Linked DNA regions of Homo sapiens: all the other regions are linked to region 5. The links are contacts of gene promoters, found by promoter capture Hi-C in blood cells and fetal thymus (Javierre and others, 2016). All regions are on one chromosome and are shown on one strand. The core of a region is centred on a gene start or on the middle of the fragment in contact, and the rest is flanking DNA. Distances in the headings are between cores, read along the strand shown. Region 1 overlaps LOC124902787 (a long non-coding RNA gene). Region 2 overlaps KCNJ1 (potassium inwardly rectifying channel subfamily J member 1). Region 3 has its middle 7.8 kb from the start of KCNJ5. Region 4 overlaps LOC124902787 (a long non-coding RNA gene). Region 5 holds the start of ETS1 (ETS proto-oncogene 1, transcription factor).

Region 1 (2,700 bases), core at 166-2,665, 280 kb after region 5:
ATTGTATTCTGGAAGAGGTGCTCTCCAATAGAAATATAATATAAGCCATGTATATAATTTTAAATTTTCTAGTAGCATCATTAAAAAAGAAACAAGAAACAGGTAAAAAGTATTTTAATAATATATTTTATTTAACCCAATATATCTAAAATACTATCATTTCAATATGCAATCAATATAAAATGATTCCTGAGATATTCTCCATCCTTTTTTTATCCAAATTCTTTGAAATCCAGTGTGTATTTCATACTCACATTTCAATTTGGACTAGTCACATTTCCATGCTCAACAGTCACATGTAGACACTGGTTAATATTGGTCTAGAAAACCCATCATATGAGAAGAAGCTATTTATTTTTCTTATGTCATGTATGATTTTGTTGAGAAGATATCAGCATCAGAGTCAATGGGTCTAGTGGTGCTAAGTTGAGCTGTAGAATTTGATAATGAATATTTATCAAGTTCTTAATGTGTTCTAAGCTTTGTTTTAGATACTGGGACTATAGTTGTAAATAAGAGTCAAAATTTACTCCCTTATGGAACTAACATTCTACTATGTGACACAGACAACAAACCAGACACATTTAATATAATCTAGGTTAAATGGTGGTAAGTGCTAAGGAAAAAATAAGGAGAGGTAAAGAGAAATAGAGAATGTTGAGACGGCAATCTAAGTTTTAGAAATAGTTGCCAGTTGCCTTCTTAATTAAAAGGTGACATTTAGTTAAAGACCCTCTGGCAATATTCCATGAAAATTATGACCTTGGATAACTTGGATTTTTAAGTAAACATTGTTGAAATGTATAGGTGAGTTTTTCTCTTAGATTTAAAGGTTTCAGGCCAGGTGTGACTCTCAGGTGAACTTGAGGAAGGACTGTCTAGAGGTCTGAGCCCTCAGAAAAGAGGCTATGTAATGACTTCATAGGACAGTAAACATAAGTGAACATGTTAATGAGACACAGATGGAACAAAATTCTCATGAAGAAAAGTTTCAAGGTGGTAACGAAATTTTGACTTAGCGTCATATTATATTGGACAATTTGGAATCCCCACTTTAACCTTATATTTTGATAAACTTGCTTTGCAGGTTTCAATTCTTCTTACCATTATAAACTTCTTACTTTTGTTTTGTTTTTGAAAGTCAGTACAGAGCCTTGGCAGTGTCATACAGAAGCTCTTGTGTTACAGGTCCCTTTACTTCTAGATTAGTGGGTTTCCCCCTTTCTCTGGTGAATACAAGATGAGTTACCCTCAATGAGGCTCATAAGCAAGTGTGTCTTTTGAACTGAAATGGTGTTCAGTGGGTGCCCTGTGCAACTGTGGCCTCAAAAATAGTTGTAGGGTGACCCTGACTTACTCCTTTCTAGGTTTCCCCTGGACTGAGCACTATGAGGAGAGAGACCTCATTGCATTCCCCACTCCTTTTCTCTCCTTGCTGAGACTTGGTCCAGAACCTCACATCCTATACAAACAGTACATGCTGAGGGCAGATGTGCTTAGAACACCTCCCTGAACTCTCTCAAACTCTCTTCAGTGCTTCACGACTAACACCTCAATAGTGAGCATTCCTCACTGAGTGCCCTCAACTCTTTTTGTTTCATCTGCTTGTTAGTTTTCATAAGTTAAATGTTTGCACTGTACTGCTGTACTATCTTTTAATGAAAATGGTTCCAGGCTATTTTATTTAAAAACATAGGCTCATAGAATGCTCATTTCAGGAAACAAAAAGGAGTAATTCTTCTGAAATTCCTGTAAGAGTATATGGGATATGGTGATAGGAAGAAACCCACTGGGTTTAGCCAACCAGGGCAATTTACTGAAAAAGAGCCTTGGGCAGAAAGAGCCCCACTGAAAGTAGCAGTACAGGAGAATGCCAAAGACCTCATTTAGCCCTTCCTCTTTCCTTCAGAAGGGTTTTAAATAAACCATTCCAAATAATTAAATTTTGATTTGAAATACTTCAAAATTATAGGAAAATTCCCATAGAGTAGGCAGGCCAAGACAGAGGCAGTTATAGCCCCTTTTAATAGGACCTTTATAAGGGAGGCTGGAGCCCAATGAGATCAAAACAAGGGAAGGTGTTCTGACCTCACCCCGTAGCATAGATTAAACTCCTAACCTCAGTCTGCCCAGGAGATGAAAATCATTGCAGCTGCTTCAAGGCCACAGCCAGTCACACATGAGAGTTGCCTCATATCCCAGGGCTCACCCTCAAATCTGCCTCCACCACCCTTGCTTGGCTAGCAGGTTGTGGATTGGAAGGAGGCCACTGGGGATGGTGCATTAGTCCATTTGCATTGCTATAAAGGAATATGTGCGGCTGGGTAATTTATAACAAAAATAAGCTTATTTGGCTCACAGTTCTGCAGGATGCACACAAAGCATCGTGCCAGCATCTGCTTCTGGTGAGGGCCTCAGGAATGTTATAGTCAAGGTGAAAAGTCTAAGGGGAGCCTGGATGTCACATGAGGGAGAGAGTGAGCAAGAGAGAGGGAGCTGGAAGTTCCAGGCTTTCTTAAACAACCAGATATTGGGTGAACTCACAGAGCAAGAATTTACTCATTACCATGAGGGGGCACCGAGTCATTCATGAGGGATCCACCTCCACGACCCCAACACCTCCCACCAGGCCCACCTCCAACATGAGGATCACATCTCAGCATGCGAATGGAGGGGATAAAATATCCGAACATATCAGAT
Region 2 (2,700 bases), core at 31-2,530, 280 kb before region 5:
AGAGTTGCTCTGCCTGCACAGTGCAAGGTGGACTAGAGTAGGGTAAGACCACGGCCGGGTAATCAGGGAGGAGATTACCAAGAGGGAGAAGACACAAAGTCTGGTGGCCAATCAGCTGCAGAGAGTGATGGGGACAGGCGAGGATGAAGTGGAGCTCTGAAACAGGAGCCAGAGACTCCCAAAGTCCGCAAAAAGAGCACACTTTGAATGGCACAGACCCTTTTCCTTCCACTCACCCTCCCACATTCAAGACTGTGATGACCTAGGCTCAAGCCAAAAGTATACAGAAAAGGGCCTAGGCTTTCCCAATCTGCTCTTTCTCCTGAAATATATATGGTTCAGGAATAGTATTAGTACTGCTGTGAAATAGCAAAAAGTGGTTGGCTCGATTATGTGGTTCAGAAATCATCATGAACAAGCAGGGTGTGCAGAAATTGGAAAAAGAAAACAACAAAAACAAACATCTTCAAAAAATGCTGAAGAAAAAAATTAGTGTAGAGACATATAAAAGATAGACCCCTAGAAAAGTCAACAATAGGCCTGGTGCAGTGGCTTACACCTGTAATCCCAGCACTTTTGGTGGCTGAGGCTCATCTGAGGTCAAGATTTCAAGACCAGCCTGGCCAACATGGAAAAACCTCATCTGTCTAAAAATTTGAAAATTAGCCAGGCATGGTGGCACACACCTGTAGTCCCAGCTTCTCAGGGGGCTGAGGCATGAGAATTGCTTGAACCCGGGAGGCGGAGGTTGCAGTGAGCTGAGATCGTGCCACTGCACTCCTCAAGCCTGGGTGATAGGGTGAGACTTTGTCTCAAAAAAAAAAAAAAAAAAAAAAAAAAAGAGAGAAAAAGAAAAAAGAAAAAGAAAAGTCAGTAATAAACCTTAAGGTCAAACCTTAAGTTACCTTAAGGTCAAAGGTTGTTCCTTCCTCCACGCAGGACGATTCTAAGCCATCCTTGCAGAAGATTGTGAAGGATGTGCAAAGTGTCAGCCTTTCTTGCCATTGCCTCGTCAGAATCTGTGAGCAAACGGAAAAAAGAACGATGCTCTTACACATGAAACTCCTGGATTCTTTTTAGAAAAATAGCAGAAAGAAACCAAAAATAGTGCAGAGAACAGGTCGCTTCAAAACTATTGAGGATCCAAAGATGTTCTGCCCTAAGGAGTTGCTTCTCAAAAACTGTTATTAAGGTCCTTAGCTGTCAAATATAAAACCCAACCCAAAAGCATTCCATTTAAAACCAGAGCATTGAAACACTAATTTTGAACAATCATTGTAAAGCCTCATCAAATCCAGCTCACTCATTGCAGAAATATGCAACTCAAAGGCCCTAGGAAAAATGTAAATCTGAATTTTCCCAGCACTGTTTTGGATGAATAATTTCCTCTCTCAGAAGAAGCCTGTTGTTACTTTTCAAAATTGGTTCCCCAGTATGCAACAGAGTCCATCTCTGCATGTGTGTATCTGCCCTGTGCTGTGTTCTGCCATTACCATGCTTTGTAAACTTTGCATTCTGGTTAGATGCGTGTGACTCACTGATGCTTCTAAGGGAAGATTCTTTTTGAATAATCCTTGAAATACAAGCCAGATTTTTCCATTTATTTAGAATTTCCCAATGTCCCTGCCCCTCCCTCTGCTCCAGTTGCACACACACCAGTGTTTCTTGGCTGGGATTCAGGAATTGTATTTATTGGGGTCTATCAGTGTGTCACCATATCCCCAGGGAACAGATTTAAATATGCAACCCAACACAATTGAAAGCAACAGGTTAATACTGTCTTTGCAGAGTTAAAACAGCCCAAGTTCTCTCAGGTGACTACCCGTAGGGGAAGTCTCATGGTTCGTTGCCCTTGATTAAATTCTCAGGAGCTTTCTGGCTTTATCCAGATCTACCATTTGTCCTTGAAGAGCTCAGCAGAACTCAGCAACTGTGAATAACTGTTGTGGGTCTTTTCACAGGAGAAGACTCTGTGAAGTGTGTGGCCCCTTGGAGTCCGAGTCCAGTGATGAGATATTCAGAGAGATAAGGGTAATCCCGGTCTCATGCTGGAAAGTGCATGTGACCATTTTGGGGATCAGGGTATTTGGATGCTGTTAAGGGAAGTGTTGGACTGCTGATGAATTATGCACAGAGTATGGGGAGCTTGAATCGGGTTCAGAGATAAGCCACAGGCATGGGCTAAGGTCACCTTAGACCTCTGGGAAGCCCCCGCTGTGCTGGCCTTAGTGAAGTGTGATGACACAGTCCCTATGCTGCAGAAGCTCTGGTCCCCGTGAGGGGATGAGTAGGGATGGCAGGTACAAGAGTGGCTGCATGACACATCAGCGAACTGGCAGAGCATGAGCACGTTCTAACCTACCAACCAGGCTCCCCGACCCAGTCTGCTTCTAGGGCAGCCCCGGGGGGGATGGAGGGGGCGGTAGGACACAGGGCTGTTTCCTCTCCCAATACTCCATCCCCTCAGAGGGAGTGGAGAAGGGGAGTCAGGAGACCCCCAGAGCGCTCCCCAGGACCAGGTCTGAGAGTCCTTTCCAACATGGGTCTCCTCACTCCTAGTCCTGCTTGAATCCATTGTGCATAAGAATTCACACCCAGCCTGGGCAATGCTCACCACTGAAGAGACAGGATGAGGTCTGCTGGGGACGGAGGCTGCCAGAGAGTGGAGAAAACCCCGTGCCGCACTCGGATTTTCTTCCC
Region 3 (2,700 bases), core at 89-2,588, 300 kb before region 5:
CACATGTATTTACTTACCTTGATCTTTAGTTTTTGTTTTATTAAGGTAATATATTGGCCGGGCACGGTGGCTCACTCCTGTAATCCCAGCACTTTGGGAGGTCGAGGCGGGCGGATCACGAGGTCAAGAGATCGAGACCATCCTGGCCAACCAACCCCGTCTCTACTAAAAATACACAAAATAGCTGGGCGTAGTGGCACATGCCTGTAGTCCCAGCTACTCGGGAGGCTGAGGCAGGAGAATCGCTTGAACCCGGGAGGTGGAGGTTGCAGTGAGCCGAGATCGTGCCACTGCACTCCAGCCTGGGTGACAGAGCGAGACTCCGTGTCAAAAAAAAAAAAGTGATATATGAAAGTAATATATTTGAAGCATCACATTTTTCTAAATAATTTGAAACAAAAGCAGTTGGGTTTCCTCTTTGACCATCTTCCAATCTGCAGAGGTCATCACTTTCATTTCTTTTGGCTATTTTTTCCCTTTGGTTTTTGTCTGTAAATGACACCCTTCTAGTAATACTTATAGATGCTTCCATCTTCAGAGACGACCTATGAACTTTCTACCACTGAAGATGGAAACGTGGCTCCCTTTCCTCCCCTGAACCCACCACGTGCTCACATACTTCCCATTTCTCGTCCAGCAAGGGAGCTGTGTCACAATTTTGGTTGGATGAATACTCAGTTTTAATATTTTTATGTCTATAAAGTTCTGTTTGTATGTAGCTGATCCATGCAGCAAACCAGATTGCTTTGTCTTTCCTGCACAACTCTTTTTCTTCTCTGGAGGGACTAATTAATTGTCTTGGTTTGGTTTGTGTAGTTGTGTTTGCTCTCATCGCCAATTTCTTTTTTCTTTTTTGGGGGGATGGAGTCTCGCTCTGTCACCCAGGCTGGAGTGCGATGGTGCGATCTTGGCTCACTGCAACCTCTGCCTCTTGGATTCAAGCAATTCTCCTGTCTCAGCTTCCTGAATAGCTGAGATTACAGGTGTGCGTTACGCGCCACCATGCCTGGTTAATTTTTGTATTTTGGATAGAGACAGGGTTTCCTCATGTTGGCCAGGCTGGTCTCAAACTCCTGACCTCAAGTGATTTGCCTTCTTCAGCTTCCCAAAGTGCTGAGATTACAGGCATGAGCCACCATGCCTGGCCTCATCACCAATTTCAATGCAAAAATTTCCACCTACCATTTCAATCTCCTCTCAAGATGTCCAGATGCACCAGAAGTCCTACTGATTCCATCTGGAGAAATCTCCCTGGTGCCTTCTGCTCCCTTTGGTCTGGCCTGGTTGCCCTCTCTGCCTAGCGCACAGCTGGCTTCCTGGCATCTCTGTTTGCTTTGCCTCACTCCCATATTGCATCCCCTGTTTCCTGAATCCCATGCGTGTTTCTTTCTTGGTTCACTCTCTTACTTTTTAGGAAGAACACGTCCTACCATTGCTTCCTAGGAAAGAGAGTGGGCAAGGTACAATTTTGAGATTCTGCATATCTGAGAATATCTCTATTCTATTCAATTGACAACTTGGGCAGGTGTAGAATTCTAAATGGGAAATTATTTTTCTTCGGTATGTTAGAGGGATTTCTTCTTCTTCCACATTTCAATTATATTGTTAGAAGCCCGAAGCAAGTTTCATTCCTGATCCTTTTGCGGGTCCTCTTTTTCCTTTCTGGAAACTAGCCAGATCTTCTCTTAGTGAGTAGTGGTGTGAAATTTCACAACGATGTGCCTTGGTGTGGGACTGTTTTCATCCACTGTACGGAACACTGGGTAGCCCTTTTAATCATCGCCTTTCCTTCTGGGTGAGTTTCTTGCGATGCCTCTTTGAGGATTTCCTCCTTCCTATTTTCTCTGTTTTCTCCTGGAATTCCTCTCACTTAGGTGTCAGATCTCAGAAGCCTCTCATTTCCTCATCTTTTTTCTCTACTTTCGTCTCTTTGTATTTTTGCAGTATGTTCTAGTAGATCTCCTCAACTTTTTTCTTTCAACCCTTCCATTGAGATTTTTATTTTTCTATCATATTTTAATTTCCGAGGGCTCCCCTTTTTTCTATTCCCTGAAGGATTTTTGGAGCATCCTCTTTATTTGAAGCGTTCTTCTCCCTGTACAGACCCTGTTTCCTCCAAGATGCCTTTTCATGCTTGTGTTTTTGCTCTGTCTTTCCTCAGATGCCTGGTAACCGGGCAAGAGGAGGCTCTGGGCCTGTGAACTTGACATCTGTCGGGTTCCCTGTAGGGTGTTCTGGCAGGCCATTTTGTTACAGGAACACTTGGTATCAGATTTTGCTTGCGGGAAAGTCAGATTCCTCAGGAAGAGCTCTTTCAATCTCCTGCTTGGAGGACTGAGTCCTGACCACCAGCCTTCTGAAACCAAGTTGAAGGAGAGAGCTGGGAGTCTTGACATCTAGTATGGATATGTTTACTTAGTCATCCTTTGAGGGGGTCTGATAAGCCCATCCTTAATGGTTCTGTGTGTTTTTCAGTCAAGAGACCCTTTGTTTTCCACTTTTGAGAGAACAAATCTCCAGGCTTCTGCCAGGAAGGGCTGGGAGAAGTCTCTTTTTTGGGCAGAGTCCGGGAGGGGAACAGGAGGTCTAACTAGGGTGCTTCCTGAATGGACTCTCAACCCATCTCCCCCTTCTTTTGGCTGCTTCCTTCACCCCCCACTTCCAGGGGTAGATAGGGTCATAGACATCTAAACCTTTTGG
Region 4 (2,700 bases), core at 55-2,554, 260 kb after region 5:
TTAGGAAATGGAGGCATAGAATGTTGAGTAAGTTGCCCGAGGTTGCGGGACTAGCAGAGAAATCAGGAATCCAGGGAATCTAGTTTAGAGCCCTTACTTTTACATCACAGTCTAAGCCCTCATTGATAACAGTTCTGCAAAGTTAGAAAGTCATCACATTATACCCAGGTGTTTGCATTCCTGTAGCCACGTAAGGAGGACTTATTCAGTAGGACAAGAAATTGCAGTTTAAAAGAAAATAATATTGTAAAAGGAAATAGCTACACTTATTTAAGACCTAAAGTTCCATTCAGTGTTTGTCTATTTGATAAATGTTTGAAAAACATTTGAGGATGTCCTGGAAGTAGAGATAAAAGACTTACTCTAGAAAGACAGACATAAGTAAAAGTGAATCATATGCTGAAAGATACTGGGACCTCTGATGAACTTATGCAAGATTAATGTAATTTCACAGGTATTTGGAAATGACACTTTGACAATCTGAACAATGGTGAGGAGACTACAGGGAGAGAGGTTTGGAAGTAACACATATATCGAAGTCTGATGTATTGGCTTAAAATATAATGCCATCTTGGCTTTTCTAATTCAACAAGTAAATATGTATACATACATGTAAAATGTCATCTGAATTGAATGGTAAAATATAGAAATTGGTGACTTTAGTTTGGGTAGCATCCAGAAAGAGAGGAGACCCCACTCTAGCTGGATGTTGTAATAACTTTCATATAAGGGCTATTTACAGCATGTGTGGGTGGAGTTTAAAACATGCACCAGGGGTTGAGCGGTGCCCTGGAATTGATGCCATCAGGAGGCAGCAGCTTTTGCCACCTCCAGGCCCGATGGCCACCAGGAAAGCAGCTGTGTGGAAAAGGATGCCTGATGAGACCTGACCTTGTATCCAGGATGCAGCCAGTCCATGGCAACCCCACAGGGAGAAGAATGGGACAATACATACAGCATCATCCCTCTCCTGCCTCCTCCCATTCTCCTGCCAGTGCTCACCAAAGACCAACCCCAGGGAGTAGCCAGAGGGCAAAGAAGGAGCCTGTAAGTCAGGCTCCTTAGGCATGCATTTTGGAGGGAGGGAAAGTGCATCTGGGGGTGCACCTGGAAGATAGCTAACTCAGTAACTGTTTGCATGTGGCAGTCAGAGAGGGGATGGAATGTGCCAGGAGTCTCAGGTCTTTGGGTATGGGCCAGGGAATATCGAGGATGTGCAAAATGAGGGGGAAATGCTGTGTATGTAACAAATTCATGTACAACTTCTAGTAGGTAATTATTTTATATCAACTATGGAGAGGGTGTGAGAGATATGGAAAGTGTCTACCATCAGTTTAGATAGGTGAGAGTTTAAACCATGGTGGCAAATGAGGTCTCGAGGGAGCCTGTGTATGTGGAGCAATTAGAAGAGATGACCAAAGGCCATGGGATCTCGGATTTGTAAAGATGTAATGAAGACACCGAGAGGAGGTAACCTGGGGGGTATTTCAACCTGGCCTTTTTCTATGTGCCAGGAGTCGTGGGTTTGTATTTGCTTTTTAAGGATTCCCACAGTTCTAAGGGGGAAATGCAGAGTGAATGGAATTTTAAGCTGAGAAATTAAAGACCTGAGCCTGTCTACTGGGCCTCAGAATAGAACCTCCACCGATGACCTTTCCTCTTCAAGCCTTCCGTACCTTTCTGGGGTAAAGTTATTTGACTACATGCTGCCTCGCAGAGTGTTTTCAAGGATAAATGAGATAACGTCTGTAAAGCCCCTGGAGAGGAAGCCCCAATCTAGATAAACACACCCTCTGGTATTTTTAGCCCCAGAGTGCTGGGTGTTCAGGATATGCCATTTAGCAATTCCTGGAGCCTTGAAAAGGAAAGAGAAAGGGGCGTTGTGGGGCCAGGATCAGTGGCATACAACAAATGTTTTTCGAGAAATCCCTCCCACCCTAAGTGTAAGAATCCACGTCAAAGGAAACAAACACCATGAGTAGATAAAACAGGAAGGTGACAGGTTTGCTTGCTTGCAATCAAGACGGGGGATGCCAAAGGGCTAGTTCTGGCTGCTGGCTCACTCTGAGGGGTGGGGGTCCAATGGCTGGCTCCTCCACTGATAATGAAACGAGGGTTAAGCAACTCTCTGTCCTGCAGAGAATGGCAGGAAACATCTTCATCACCCATGACTCCTTGAGAGAGTAGTGGGGTTTGGGGAGGTTGCATTTCCTTTCAAGATTCCAGAAAGGGTGCTCACACCCCCAGGGGCATGAATGCTGGCACGCTGACCCAACACAAGCAAGGCTGCCAGATGACCATGGGGTCCGGCCCGCCCTTCTGTCCCTATCTGCTTCATAAGCACAAAGCCCTTCAGAAAGTAACAACAGGAACCTTGGAATGATAACTCACTTGGAGAAAGGTCTTACAAGAGTTCATCGAGCTGCTTCATCAATGCTCTTTTCTTCCTTTCCATTCTGTAGGGAGAATGTTTATCTCTCAGTTTCATGTTATGGGCCTAATCTCTTTATATATGGAAAGGGAATAAAGTTTGAGTATCTCCTATGCTCCAGGCTGTGAGTTAAACATTTATATGCATCATGTCATTTAAATCTACATTTAACTCTACTCTGCTATGTCTATATTCTTTCCACAACTGTCCTGTTAAACTCAGAAACCAAAACTGGCACAGAGTTAAATCAGGGTGCCTGTATCAAGCTG
Region 5 (2,700 bases), core at 124-2,623:
GGGTTACAGGGGCAGGCTGAAGCTTCCCTAGCTCTCTTCATAGACTTCTTTTGTAGCATGTATTACATTTTTGGGGGGAGATCGTTGATTTATGTGTCTGTCTCCTCACTACAATGCAAACTTGCTATCTTTCTAGTGCCTAGAACAGTGCCTGGCACAGGCAATTTATTAAACTAAAGTGAACCAATAGCATTACCTCTTCCTTACTTCCAAGTTAATGTGCAAAGGCAGAAGATGAGCAGTAAAATCTTGCTTTACTTACAATGTCATCTTAACTGCATTGCCAGCTTTATACAATGAAGGCTGATGATGATATGGCTCCAAATGACAGTTATTAGATTTTCAAGGATTTTCTAAGTTTGTATCTTTATTAAAAAGAGAAAGAAGCCAACTATGACAAATCTTAACTCCCACCTCCTACTCAAAGAAGATGGAATCTTTTAGGATAAAAGTCTTAGATTAAGCAGCCAAATACTGACTTCTCAAAAAAAATTGTAATAACTCCATTCATAGAAATGAGATTATGCTGTAACATTCTTACCATAGTCCTGAATATGTGAATAAAAGATGCTGTGTATTTTCACTTAGGACAGATGTAAGATTTTCATATTGTTTACATTTTCCCTAAATGAGAAATGTATGAACACTTCTGCCCTTTTATTCCTGCACCACGGACCATGAGTCAGGGCTGCTAAAAGTATCCTTATTTTAGAGATTGCCTAAAACCAGACTTATATGAAAAGGGGATTTTTAGCTTTACTTTTCAGAAATCCCAAGTCCATATCCAGTCAGCTCTCTTCCACAAAATTATTTTCTTTTCTTTAGAAAATATCACATTTCATATCAAGTTATTAGAGAGAAACGGGAAGCCTGAGCAGGTGACTGGGTGGTGGACGTCCTGTGTTTCTAAAGCAATCCCTTTCCCTCACCTGAGACCTTGCCTAGGTTAATGGGGGCTCCATTGAGAAAGTCAAGGAACATGAAGCATGAATATTTACATATTCAGCAGAGAGTAAATGCATCAGCAAATGATGAGGTGAGATACAGTGTTATCCCACTGAACTAGTTCCCTTTTGCTCATCTCCCTCCCTGTTACTCTCCAAGGCTGAGTTATATTCAGCTGAAGCACAATTTGAAGAATACGAAATAATGTGTGATTTGGTGCCACCACTGTCAATCAACAGTGCTTTCCACCTAGACTGCTGTGCCTGTGCCAGTGGCTGCTGTCCTGGTGCCAGGGGCAAGAGGAAGACTGCCTTTTTTCCAGCTTTCCCTGGCTTGACCACACCCCCCAATTTAAGGAGGCAGCTCTATTAGAAACATTATGGTCTTTGCATCCTCTTAAGCTACGGAGCAGAGGATTCCCGCAGGTAGTTGGAAAGAGACCACAGACTTTGAGGGAAGCTCACTCAGGATCTGCTCTCCGGCAAAGTAGTAAGTGAGGTGTGTGTCAGTTTCTGCCTAAAACTTTTCAGTCCATTTTCCTTTTCCTGCTTTAAAAAAATTTCTGTGGAATTAAAGAGTAAGTCGGTAGGGAGATTCAGGATACAAGTGAGTTTTCTCTTTCTCTTTTCACGTCTTTCTATATTCCCATTTAATTGTTTAACAATTTTCAAAAATACTTCCTAACCTCGTCAGAATAGTCTGAAAGCAAGACTATGTTTTTAAAAATGTTCCCTGCTTCACAAAAGTAAAACCATGCACGTTTTAGATACCCGTAGATTACTTGTCAGAAACCCTGATTTTTTTTTTTTTTTTTTGCAAATTGGAGCACTTCCAAAGAAATAAAGCTGTAGTTAAATATATAAATTTCTTTTTATTCTCTTTCACTCCTAGTAAATCTATTGTTTTACTTTTTTCTCCTGCTAGTAGTTTAATGAATTGCTTTTAATAGAGAGGAAATTGCTACAGGTTTGAATCTTGCTAGCCAAACTAGCCTGTTTGGTGTTTTTCTCTGTCTTGGGACTGACCTGCAGTTGTCCAAAGATCTACAAGTTCCTAAGTCTGTTGTTGAGACATGGTGTGGGTGTGGGCCGCGGTTGTCTCAGAGTTAGGGAGGTATTTCTTGTCCCCACGGTAGAGCTGGACTCAGTGGCAGGAGATGTCGATGGCAATTCCTCTGCATCCGGTGATTTTATCTGGCCGTGACACTTTGTATGTGACTCCTCACCCACCGTTAAAGGTCTCTGTTACCAACTTTTAAAGTAGTATTTTCTTCAGGCAAACTTAAAAGGGTGCTGGGTCACTGAAATCAATGCATTCTATTGCAGGATTTCTTTATCACCTTTTGGGTAAGTTTTTGTTTTTAATCTCAAGTCCATTTTCCTTCTTACTTTAGACCACTGCCATGCAACTGAGAAAAAAGTATTTGTTAAACAGCAGGAAATACCAATTCTAAAATGATAACTCCATCAGCTCCATTTGATTTGTAAAATTACTGATACTATAACTCTTTCATCAGTTGTGGTTTTGGGTTTGGTGGCCTATTTTTATCCAAAGAGAAAACGCTTTTTCTTCAGGGGCCGTGGGCTGTGCACAAGGGCTGCAGGGTGGCCACTGCTGCTGTTGAGAGTCTTGCTCACCTGTTGTTCCTGAATGGAGGGAAGGGAGAGCTAATGGGTTAATGTCTGCAAAGTGCTTTGAAGATGAAAAGGTCTTTTCATGTGTTCAGTAGTGCAGTTATTAATATTAATATTTGAA

Evidence for each region. The method cuts DNA at HindIII sites, captures the fragments that hold promoters and counts their contacts. A CHiCAGO score of 5 or more calls a contact.
Region 1: a fragment that was not itself captured here is called in contact with the fragment with the promoter of ETS1 in region 5 in 17 of 17 cell types (activated CD4 T cells, total B cells, naive B cells and 14 more); the score reaches 35.2 in activated CD4 T cells.
Region 2: a contact is called between a fragment that was not itself captured here and the fragment with the promoter of ETS1 in region 5, in 3 of 17 cell types (total B cells, naive CD4 T cells and naive B cells). The highest score is 6.9, in total B cells.
Region 3: a contact is called between a fragment that was not itself captured here and the fragment with the promoter of ETS1 in region 5, in 4 of 17 cell types (naive B cells, megakaryocytes, total CD8 T cells and 1 more). The highest score is 7.0, in naive B cells.
Region 4: a fragment that was not itself captured here is called in contact with the fragment with the promoter of ETS1 in region 5 in 15 of 17 cell types (activated CD4 T cells, total B cells, naive B cells and 12 more); the score reaches 21.3 in activated CD4 T cells.

The regions. Positions count from the first base shown.
Region 1 is chr11:128,310,734-128,313,433 of GRCh38, reverse strand. The region is part of intron 1 of LOC124902787 (a long non-coding RNA gene); the gene reads left to right. Among named protein-coding and RNA genes, the nearest start is that of LINC02098, 100 kb to the right of the region's middle. The HindIII fragment of the contact is 1,865 bases long and covers 483-2,347 here.
Region 2 is chr11:128,862,216-128,864,915 of GRCh38, reverse strand. All of the region lies in intron 1 of KCNJ1 (potassium inwardly rectifying channel subfamily J member 1), which reads left to right. It overlaps LOC107984409 (a long non-coding RNA gene), which reads right to left. Exons shown (of 3, transcript XR_001748442.2): 2 at 906-1,019. Among named protein-coding and RNA genes, the nearest start is that of KCNJ1, 3.7 kb to the left of the region's middle. The HindIII fragment of the contact is 3,618 bases long and covers 1-2,700 here.
Region 3 is chr11:128,882,161-128,884,860 of GRCh38, reverse strand. No RefSeq gene overlaps it. Among named protein-coding and RNA genes, the nearest start is that of KCNJ5, 7.8 kb to the left of the region's middle. The HindIII fragment of the contact is 3,507 bases long and covers 1-2,700 here.
Region 4 is chr11:128,328,594-128,331,293 of GRCh38, reverse strand. The region is part of intron 1 of LOC124902787 (a long non-coding RNA gene); the gene reads left to right. Among named protein-coding and RNA genes, the nearest start is that of LINC02098, 120 kb to the right of the region's middle. The HindIII fragment of the contact is 7,097 bases long and covers 1-2,700 here.
Region 5 is chr11:128,586,231-128,588,930 of GRCh38, reverse strand. It overlaps ETS1 (ETS proto-oncogene 1, transcription factor), which reads left to right and starts at 1,373. Exons shown (of 10, transcript NM_001143820.2): 1 at 1,373-1,443. It overlaps LOC105369565 (a long non-coding RNA gene), which reads right to left. Exons shown (of 5, transcript XR_948163.3): 4 at 1,971-2,591. RefSeq lists a silencer at 1,214-1,420. The HindIII fragment of the contact is 9,036 bases long and covers 25-2,700 here.